Linked DNA regions of Homo sapiens: regions 2 and 3 are each linked to region 1. Evidence: promoter capture Hi-C in human tissues and cell types (Jung and others, 2019). All regions are on one chromosome and are shown on one strand. Each heading gives the region's core, a stretch centred on a gene start or on the middle of the fragment in contact. The rest is flanking DNA. Distances are from core to core; before and after follow the strand shown.

Evidence for each region. The method cuts DNA at HindIII sites, captures the fragments that hold promoters and counts their contacts. A contact is called where the count stands out against the background at its distance.
Region 2: a fragment that was not itself captured here is called in contact with the fragment with the promoter of CCDC43 in region 1 in 1 of the 25 tissues and cell types used here (mesendoderm cells).
Region 3: the fragment with the promoter of EFTUD2 here is called in contact with the fragment with the promoter of CCDC43 in region 1 in 1 of the 25 tissues and cell types used here (hippocampus).

What each region holds. Positions count from the first base shown.
Region 1 is chr17:44,688,487-44,691,088 of GRCh38, reverse strand. It overlaps CCDC43 (coiled-coil domain containing 43), which reads left to right and starts at 1,313. Exons shown (of 5, transcript NM_144609.3): 1 at 1,313-1,539. The coding sequence starts at 1,336. LOC105371792 (a long non-coding RNA gene) reads right to left here. Exons shown (of 4, transcript XR_007065769.1): 4 at 2,076-2,148. LOC124904010 (a long non-coding RNA gene) reads right to left here and starts at 1,308. Exons shown (of 2, transcript XR_007065770.1): 1 at 1,235-1,308; 2 at 779-1,094. RefSeq lists enhancers at 1,183-1,322, 991-1,580. The HindIII fragment of the contact is 3,238 bases long and covers 1-2,602 here.
Region 2 is chr17:44,459,546-44,462,147 of GRCh38, reverse strand. The region is part of intron 3 of GPATCH8 (G-patch domain containing 8); the gene reads left to right. Among named protein-coding and RNA genes, the nearest start is that of GPATCH8, 43 kb to the left of the region's middle. The HindIII fragment of the contact is 7,792 bases long and covers 1-2,602 here.
Region 3 is chr17:44,898,151-44,900,752 of GRCh38, reverse strand. EFTUD2 (elongation factor Tu GTP binding domain containing 2) reads left to right here and starts at 1,308. Exons shown (of 28, transcript NM_004247.4): 1 at 1,308-1,384. It overlaps DNAAF19 (dynein axonemal assembly factor 19), which reads right to left and starts at 1,024. Exons shown (of 4, transcript NM_213607.3): 1 at 894-1,024. The HindIII fragment of the contact is 11,041 bases long and covers 1-1,766 here.

The DNA of each region.
Region 1 (2,602 bases), core at 64-2,563:
TGATTTTGTTTGTTCGTTTGTTTGTTTGTTTTTGAGATGGAGTCTCACTGTCGCTCAGGCTGGAGTGCAGCGGCGCGATCTTGGCTCACTGCAACCTCCGCCTTCCGGGTTCCAGCGATTCTGAGTAGCTGGGATTACAGGCCCGCGCCACCACACCTGGCTTTTGTTGTTGTTGTTGTTTGTTTTGAGACGGAATTTCGCTCTTGTTGCCCAGGCTGGAGTGCAATGGCACGATCTCTGCTCACCGCAACCTCCGCCTCCTGGGTTCAAGCGATTCTCCTGCCTCAGCCTCCCACGTAGCTGGGATTACAGGCATGTCCCACCACGCCCGGCTAATTTTGTATTTTTAGTAGAGACGGGGGTTCTCCATTTTGGTCAGGCTAGTCTCGAACTCCAGACCTCAGGTGAGCTGCCCACTTTGGCCTTCCAAAGTGCTGGGATTACGGGAGTGAGCCACCGTGCCCGGCCTTATTTTTGTATTTTTACTAGAGACGGGGTTTCACCATGTCGGCCAGGCTGGTCTCGAACTCCTGACCTCAGGTGATCCACCCGCCTCGGCTTCCCAAACTGTTGGGATTACAGGCGTGAGACATGGCGCCCGGCCTGTCTCCTTATCTTTAAAATGTGGACAATAAAAGCATCTCCCCACAGGGCTGTAGGGAGGATTACAAGAGATAATGCATGAAAAGCTTTTGGCACAGTGCCTAGCAGAGGGTGGGGTACGCTTCTCAAAGAATAGTCCCGTGCACGCGTTGAATCAATGAGTGGAAGAAATAACTTGAGGTTGCCTGTTTATTTACTGAGTGCCTACCATGGAATCAGGGAAGGTTTTCTGCAACCTTTACTTTGACAGGGAAGGGCTTGTACAGGTGAAGGTGGTAGCCGTCGGTAGCGACGACGAGGGTATTCCAGGCTGTCAGGAGGTTCTTGCCAGACAGCTGTGTGGGAGTGGGCGGCCAGCATCCCCCGAAAGCGCGGGGAAGGCAGCTCGGTCGGGTGGAGGAAGCGATGGCATCCACGCTGAGCTCCAGTCCTGGGTAGTTATTAGCCGCGTGACTTTGGCCAAATTACTGCACCTCTCTCAACTTCCCGAACTGTAGAATGAGTCTGTTAAGAATACTCACATGCCAAGCATCTTGTGAGATCACGCGACCGCACGTATGCGAAGACGCGCTTCATCTAGAAAGCACAAAACTCTCAAGCCGGCCGACACGGCTGCGCTCTTTGCACTTACGGGCCTGGGCTTCCTCTTCAGGCATGCGCGGTGGACCTGCGGCGCGGCCCGTCAGGCACTGCGGTAGGCGCCCTAGGGGCTTGCAGGACCCTGACCCCAAGATGGCGGCGCCCAGCGAAGTGGCCGCGATAGCCCCTGGCGAAGGCGATGGCGGAGGCGGCGGCTTTGGCTCCTGGCTGGACGGACGGTTGGAGGCACTGGGAGTGGACCGAGCCGTTTATGGAGCCTACATCTTGGGTATCCTGCAGGAGGAGGAGGAAGAAGAGAAGCTGGACGCTCTGCAGGGGATCCTCTCTGCTTTCCTGGTGAGTAGCCTGGACACATTCCTTCAGCCTCTGGCCAGCATCTGAGGACCTGTCAGTACTTTGCACCCTCCCTCCCCTACCGGGTATCCCAGAGGCTCAGTGGTCTCACCTGGGAGAGGTATACTCCTCTGATATCTGGGCGGCGGGGGAAGGAGGTTGCTCCCCAACCAGGTGTGGGAAGCCTGAAAGCTGCAGGTACACAGAGAGGAAGGGCTTTCTCGTATTCTTGGGGACAAGGCCCTCTCCGATGCTTGTGAGTGAGCCGAGGAGGGTTCTTCCGAAGGCATTGAAATGTCAGAATGGGAATGTTATCATAAATATCTGACGACCAATTCCATTTCCATCCGTTTACAGTGTTCACTGGGGGTATTAAAATGCTCTTGGGAGGTCTGTGCCTATTACAAGGCAGTTCCCAGGGCTGTCCCATGACAGAAGCCTGCAGGAAGTGCCCTTTTGATTCTTATATGGATGTAGGAGTCCATAAAAGGTAAGCTGGTGGTAGAAGTCTTTTCATGCCCACGCAGAACTGAAGCAAACGTCGTGCTTGATCCATTACAGTATTTACAGTAATCATTGGTGGTGGGAAGGAGGGTATGAGAGAGATCAGAGCTTTAACGAAGAGAGAGAAACTTAGTCCTTAGCCTGTTAGAAGCAAGGTATTCAGAAATGTGTACTTTAAGCTATGTTTACATAGTAAGTCACCCAGATGTCCACTTTTTCAACCTGATCATTTCTGCTGCCTTCATCTTCACTTCCCACACCTCCAACATACACACTTATTAGACTGGTTATTACAGATTAAATTGGTTGTAGGTGCTACCTGTGGCTGTCTAACAAATTGTTTCCTTTTAAATACAAGCTTAAAAATAAAATTTACTTGAATCATCACTAAATGCTGTAGAAGCTAGAGTTGTCTCTGCATTCATGGATTAGAGGAGATCCTGGATACCTGATTGCTACTGTGAGAGCCACCTGTCTGTCCATCAAAGGCTTTATCCTCTGGCATTTATTACAATGGACAGGTTAGAAAAATGGGTTCTTTGTTATTCTCAAAACCAATTTT
Region 2 (2,602 bases), core at 59-2,558, 230 kb after region 1:
CAGAGACTTTAAAGTACAACTAGAACCTGCAGAGAGAAAGGAGGGAGAAGAGATAGATAATGTGTTTAAGAAAGGATAGGTAAATGGCTACTCACCTACTTTGGATGATCCAAAGTTATTTTCAATTTTTGTTTTTAAGGAGATTTTAGGCAGGGTGCTGTGGCTTATGCCTGTAACCTCAGCACTTTGGGAGGTTGAGGCAGGAGGATCACCTGAGCCCAGGAGTTTGAGACCAGCCTAGGCAACATAGACCCCATCTCTATCTCCCCCTACACCCCACCCCCCAAAAATTAGTTGGGCTTGGTAGTCCATGCCTGTGGTCCCAGTTAAGAGGTTTAAGGTAGGAGGATTGCCTGAGCCCGGAAGGTTGAGGCTGCAGTGACCCTTGATCGCACCACTACGCTCTAGCCTGGGTGACAGAGTGAGACTCTGTCTCACACACACACGAAAAAAAAACAGTTTAGAATTTTGGTTCCCTTTAAACTTTGAGCTTCTTGAAAAGAGGAGTTAGGTTTTATCCATATTTTGCCTCCATCTCCATGGTAACAAGTATATATAGTAAGTACTCAATAACTCATAAATCTATTCATTTAAAAATTCAAGGGAAATTTAAAGCTCATTTGAAGGTTTTTTTTCTTTTTAATTGTTAAAAAACGGATAACATAGCCGGGTGCAGTGGCTAGCGCCTGAAATCCCAGCACTTTGGGAAGCTGAGGCAGAAGGATTACTTGAGGCCAGGAGTTGAGACCAGCCTGGGCAATATAGCAAGACCCCCATCTCTACAAAAAAAAAAAATTAATTGGCTGGACTTGGTGGCACACACCTATAGTCCCAGCTACTAGGGAGGCTGAGGTGGGAGGATCACTTGAGCCCAGGATTTGAAGGATGCAGTGAACTATGATTGGGCCATTGCACTCCAGCCTGGGTGACAGAGCAAGACCCTCTGTTTAAAATAAATAAATAAATAAAATAAAATTCACCCTTTCCAAAACACATAACATAAAATTTAGCATCTTAATCATTTTTAAGTGTACAGTTGTGTATGTGAAGTATATTTACATTGTTGGTGCAAAGTCCATCTGTTTTAAATGATTAGTATCTTTATTCTCCAAAAAGAATGGAGCCTTATTCTGTTTCCAACATTAAGAATTGAGTTTGTTTCATAACTGACTGTTTACTTCCTAGTGTCGGATTCAGCAGTGTACATGCAGGCATTGTGCTGGTTTCTCTCACATACCTCTTTCTATAGTACCCACATAATTTAACCTAGAATATATCCACATTTATTGCATATTGAGGCAATTTATGACAGATTTCTTTGACCATACTAAACCTTTGATATAAATAACCATTCAAAAAAGCCCTGTCACTCTAGTGTAAACAGTAGGCATCGCATGTGATTTCTGGGCTTATGCTTTTGTAAGTTCTTCACATTGACTAGTTCATTGTCAACTTTCCTTTTGATTTGAGTTTAGGACTCTTAACATATCTCACATGCAACCATCCACTAAAATTTTAAGCCTGGTCCTTTTGGGCTTTTTTGTCAAAGCTTTAAAAATTATTTTGACCCATGCAAGGCTTTTGCCAACAAAAGTTGCAGTTCTTGGTGCTCCAGTGCTGATGTCTTGTTACTGAATAGATTGGAGAATAGGGCATGCAGACTCTGGAATGAAGTTATCTGTGGCAGGATATTAAATTGTACTTTGTAAACTGAGTTTATTTTTGTACCCATTTTCTTATTCACATTTCATTCTCCTTTAGTATTTGTTAAAATATTTCAGAAATTTTAAAAAAGTTATTATATATGGCCGATAATTATTAGTATTAAAAAATAAAAGACCTGAAGAAAAGATAATGTTGACAAGATATCTGAAGGAAACAACACAAAAAAAGCACTACTGATGAGAAATATTATGAACAATTGTTTATTATAGAAACAGAGGATATGTTTAATTCAGAATAAAGCAAGAGTGAATGATAGTTGTATTTTGTAGCATTTAGACTGGATTCAGTTCTGGAAATTGTTTTATAACCTTTTGTCAGCTTTGAAATGGAATGTAGTTCAAAATTTTTATTTTTCTGTGAAATACATTTAGTCAATAGGTGTAGCCCAGAAATGGTGCCTGAAGTTTCTTTGTTACATTGTGTAAGTACTATTTGATGATTTGGCTGATTCTTTGGTGACAGACAAAAGTTTAGCTCCTAGGAAAAATGAATGGGGTCTGATATTATTTCCTATCTCACCCTGTTTAGAAGGTTCGATGAGTACATTTAGACAACCAACACATATTTACTGACCTAACACTACATTCTTGTTATACCAGCAGTAAATACCCTAAGACATGGAGAGTAGATAAGACATGGTTCCTGACTTTCAGGTTTATTTCCCAGTCCCTCAAGTCTTGCTTTTTTTTTTAACTGCTGTAGACCTTTGAAGTTTCCTTGAAGCCAAGGATGATGTTTTCTACTTTTGTGCACTCCTTTCATACTTAAATTAAGTATGTGATCAGTCTGAATATTTAATTAAAAAATTGTTTCAACCCCCTTGTGAGTAGGAAGTCTCACTAATTTTTGTGTAAAAGTACTTGGTGCAGGGTGTAAT
Region 3 (2,602 bases), core at 59-2,558, 210 kb before region 1:
TTTGGAGTTCTGTCTTAATTTTGCTCTTTGCCTCTAAAAATATTTTTAATTTTGGTGCTTCAGTCGAGGAGGCATTGGGATCTCAGAATTCAGTTTCTTCACTCTTCCCCCATAGGATTGTTCTACAGCAAGTCGTTTCGACAGGGGACCTCACACAAAGGCAGAACTCTTGTTAGTTACCCTTGAGCTCGGGGATAAAGTTTCATTCTTCATTGAATGTCTTTAATGAGGAAGGAGACTTTCACCCAAACCAGATGCAATGACTGAGCAGGAAATCAAGTAGAAGGGGCAAAGGAAGGAGCTCAATGACCCCATCCCCAAATCCCTCTGTCCAGCCCAGGGCTGGAACAGAGGTCCCTAGGTACCTGGGCAATGCCTTTAGTTCTATCACTGTACTTCTGTAGTTTCTGCATATCTGAGGCTGACTGATCATTTCTACAGAGATATTCTTTTCTTTTTTTTTTTTTCTGGCTCTGTTGCCCAGGCTGGAGTGCAGTGGCGCGATCTTGGCTCATTGCAACCTCTGCCTCCGGGGTTCAAGCAATTTTCGATCCTGACCTCAAGTAATCCGCGCGCCTCGGCCTCCCAAAGTGCTGGGATTACAGGCGTGAGCCACTGCAGAGAGATTCTCTACGTGGGTTCTAGTCGTGGCTCTGGCATTTACTTGTGGGACCTCTCTGAACTGCAAACTCCTAGTGAGTTGAGCTAGATTTTGTGGCGGGGTCATCACCAACAGCCCTAGCGCAAGGAAGCAGGAAGTCCCCAACCAATCCCATAGCCACCCTACCCCAACGTAGGGAATCTGAACGCCAAGAAGGGGCTGGGGTGGCCAGTAACCGAAATCAGGTGTCCAGTTCTCAGCCCTCCCCAGGCATTTAATACATAGAACTAACCCTTCCGTCCCCTTACTCAGCCTCCCGGACCTTCACCCCAGCAGTCCCGGCCTTGGTCCCCTTGCTTTCTTTGGGGATCCCCTGATAAACCAGAACAGGAGGGCAACCCCGCGCAGACCACGCCCGCAGCTGTGGTTGCCTAGCAACTGCGCTAACAGCCTGACCACGTGATCTGCCCGAAGGCCCCTCCCCCCATTTTCAGGGTGGTCCCGAGGCGCCTGATCAGATTCGTTCATCCTCAGCTCTCACCCTCTTTGGAGCAGCCCACGTCTTGGGCTACTCGTCTTGGGGACCCGCTACTCCGCCTTGCCAGTCCGCGGCGGGCATACCTCGGAACTGGTCCTCAGGCAGAGGGTTGTCCTCCCGGGCAGAAAGGCGACAGCGGCGTCTGCGGGGTCCTTCCTGGCGGCGGGCGCAGGCGTTTCCTCGGCGTGGGGCGGAAGCACGATCTCCGGCAGCGGCCTGGGAACTCTTAGCTGAGCAGGCGAGAGGTAAGTTGAAGCGGGTCAGCGGCACGGAAGGGTTGCTCCAGGTGGGATAGGAAATTAAAAAGCGTCAGATCTGGAAGGGGCCTTATATGCTATTGGCCCCTTTCGCTTTACGGATCGGTAAATTGAGGCCTGGAGCGGGAAAAAGAATGGAAGACCCTGTCGTCCTCGTGCCTTCCCAAGGCTTCCGAAGCGCGCACACACGCACACACCTCGATTTCGGGGCTGCCTCTATAGCCTCAGTCCGTAAAATCGTATCGCTAGGTAGGAGTGGTGCTCTAACTGTCCAGTCCCCTCGCTCACTTCCTCTTCTATCCGTGCCGCTTTCAGCCGTTCTTTGCCAAGTTCCCTCCGAAGTCCTCTGAGCTCCTGCATTGTAGCGGGAAGCGGCAGTGAGGTTTGTTACCATGAGTCGCTAGTTTTGTGTAACTGTGGGCAAATCAGCTATATTCTGTGTACCTTGTTAGAGTCATTCATTAGTTCAGTAAATACTTATTGAGGGCTTAGTCTATGCTAGGCACAGTACTAAGTGAACAAAGTCTTTGCTTCAATTGTAGTTGGGGAAATGAACAGTAAACAACTAGATACAAGTCAGCTAGTGATAAATGTATAACATTTGTGAATAGCAATAAAACAGTGAAAGTGGGAAGTTGGAGAGTATGTATGGGGGACTTTTTAGAGTGACAGAGAAGATGACATTTTAGTGGAGACTTGATTGAAATAAAGGAACAAGGTGAAAAATATCAAAGGGGAGAGCGTTTTGGACAAAGAGAAAGGCAAGTGCAGTGGCCCTGAGGCAGAAATGAGCTTGGCTTGTTCCATGAACAGCTTTCTATAACAGTTTCTTCAATCGGCCGGGCGCGGTGGCTCACGCCTGTAATCCCAGCACTTTGGGAGAAAGACGCGGGCGGATCACCTGAGGTCAGGAGTTCGAGACCAGCCTGGCCAACATGGTGAAAACCCATCTCTACTAAGAATACAAAAAAATTAGCCAGGCGTAGTGGTGCACTCCTGTAGTCCCAACTACTCGGGAGGCTGAGGCAGGAGAATCGCTTGAAACCAGGAGGCGGAGGTTGCAGTGAACTGAGATCGTGCCGTTGTACTCCAGCCTGGGCAACAAGAGCAAAACTCTGTCTCAAAAAATATATATAAAATAAATAAATAATTTCTTCAATCCCTTGACTGGGGTCTTGGGAGAATGAGATAAGCATAAATGCGATA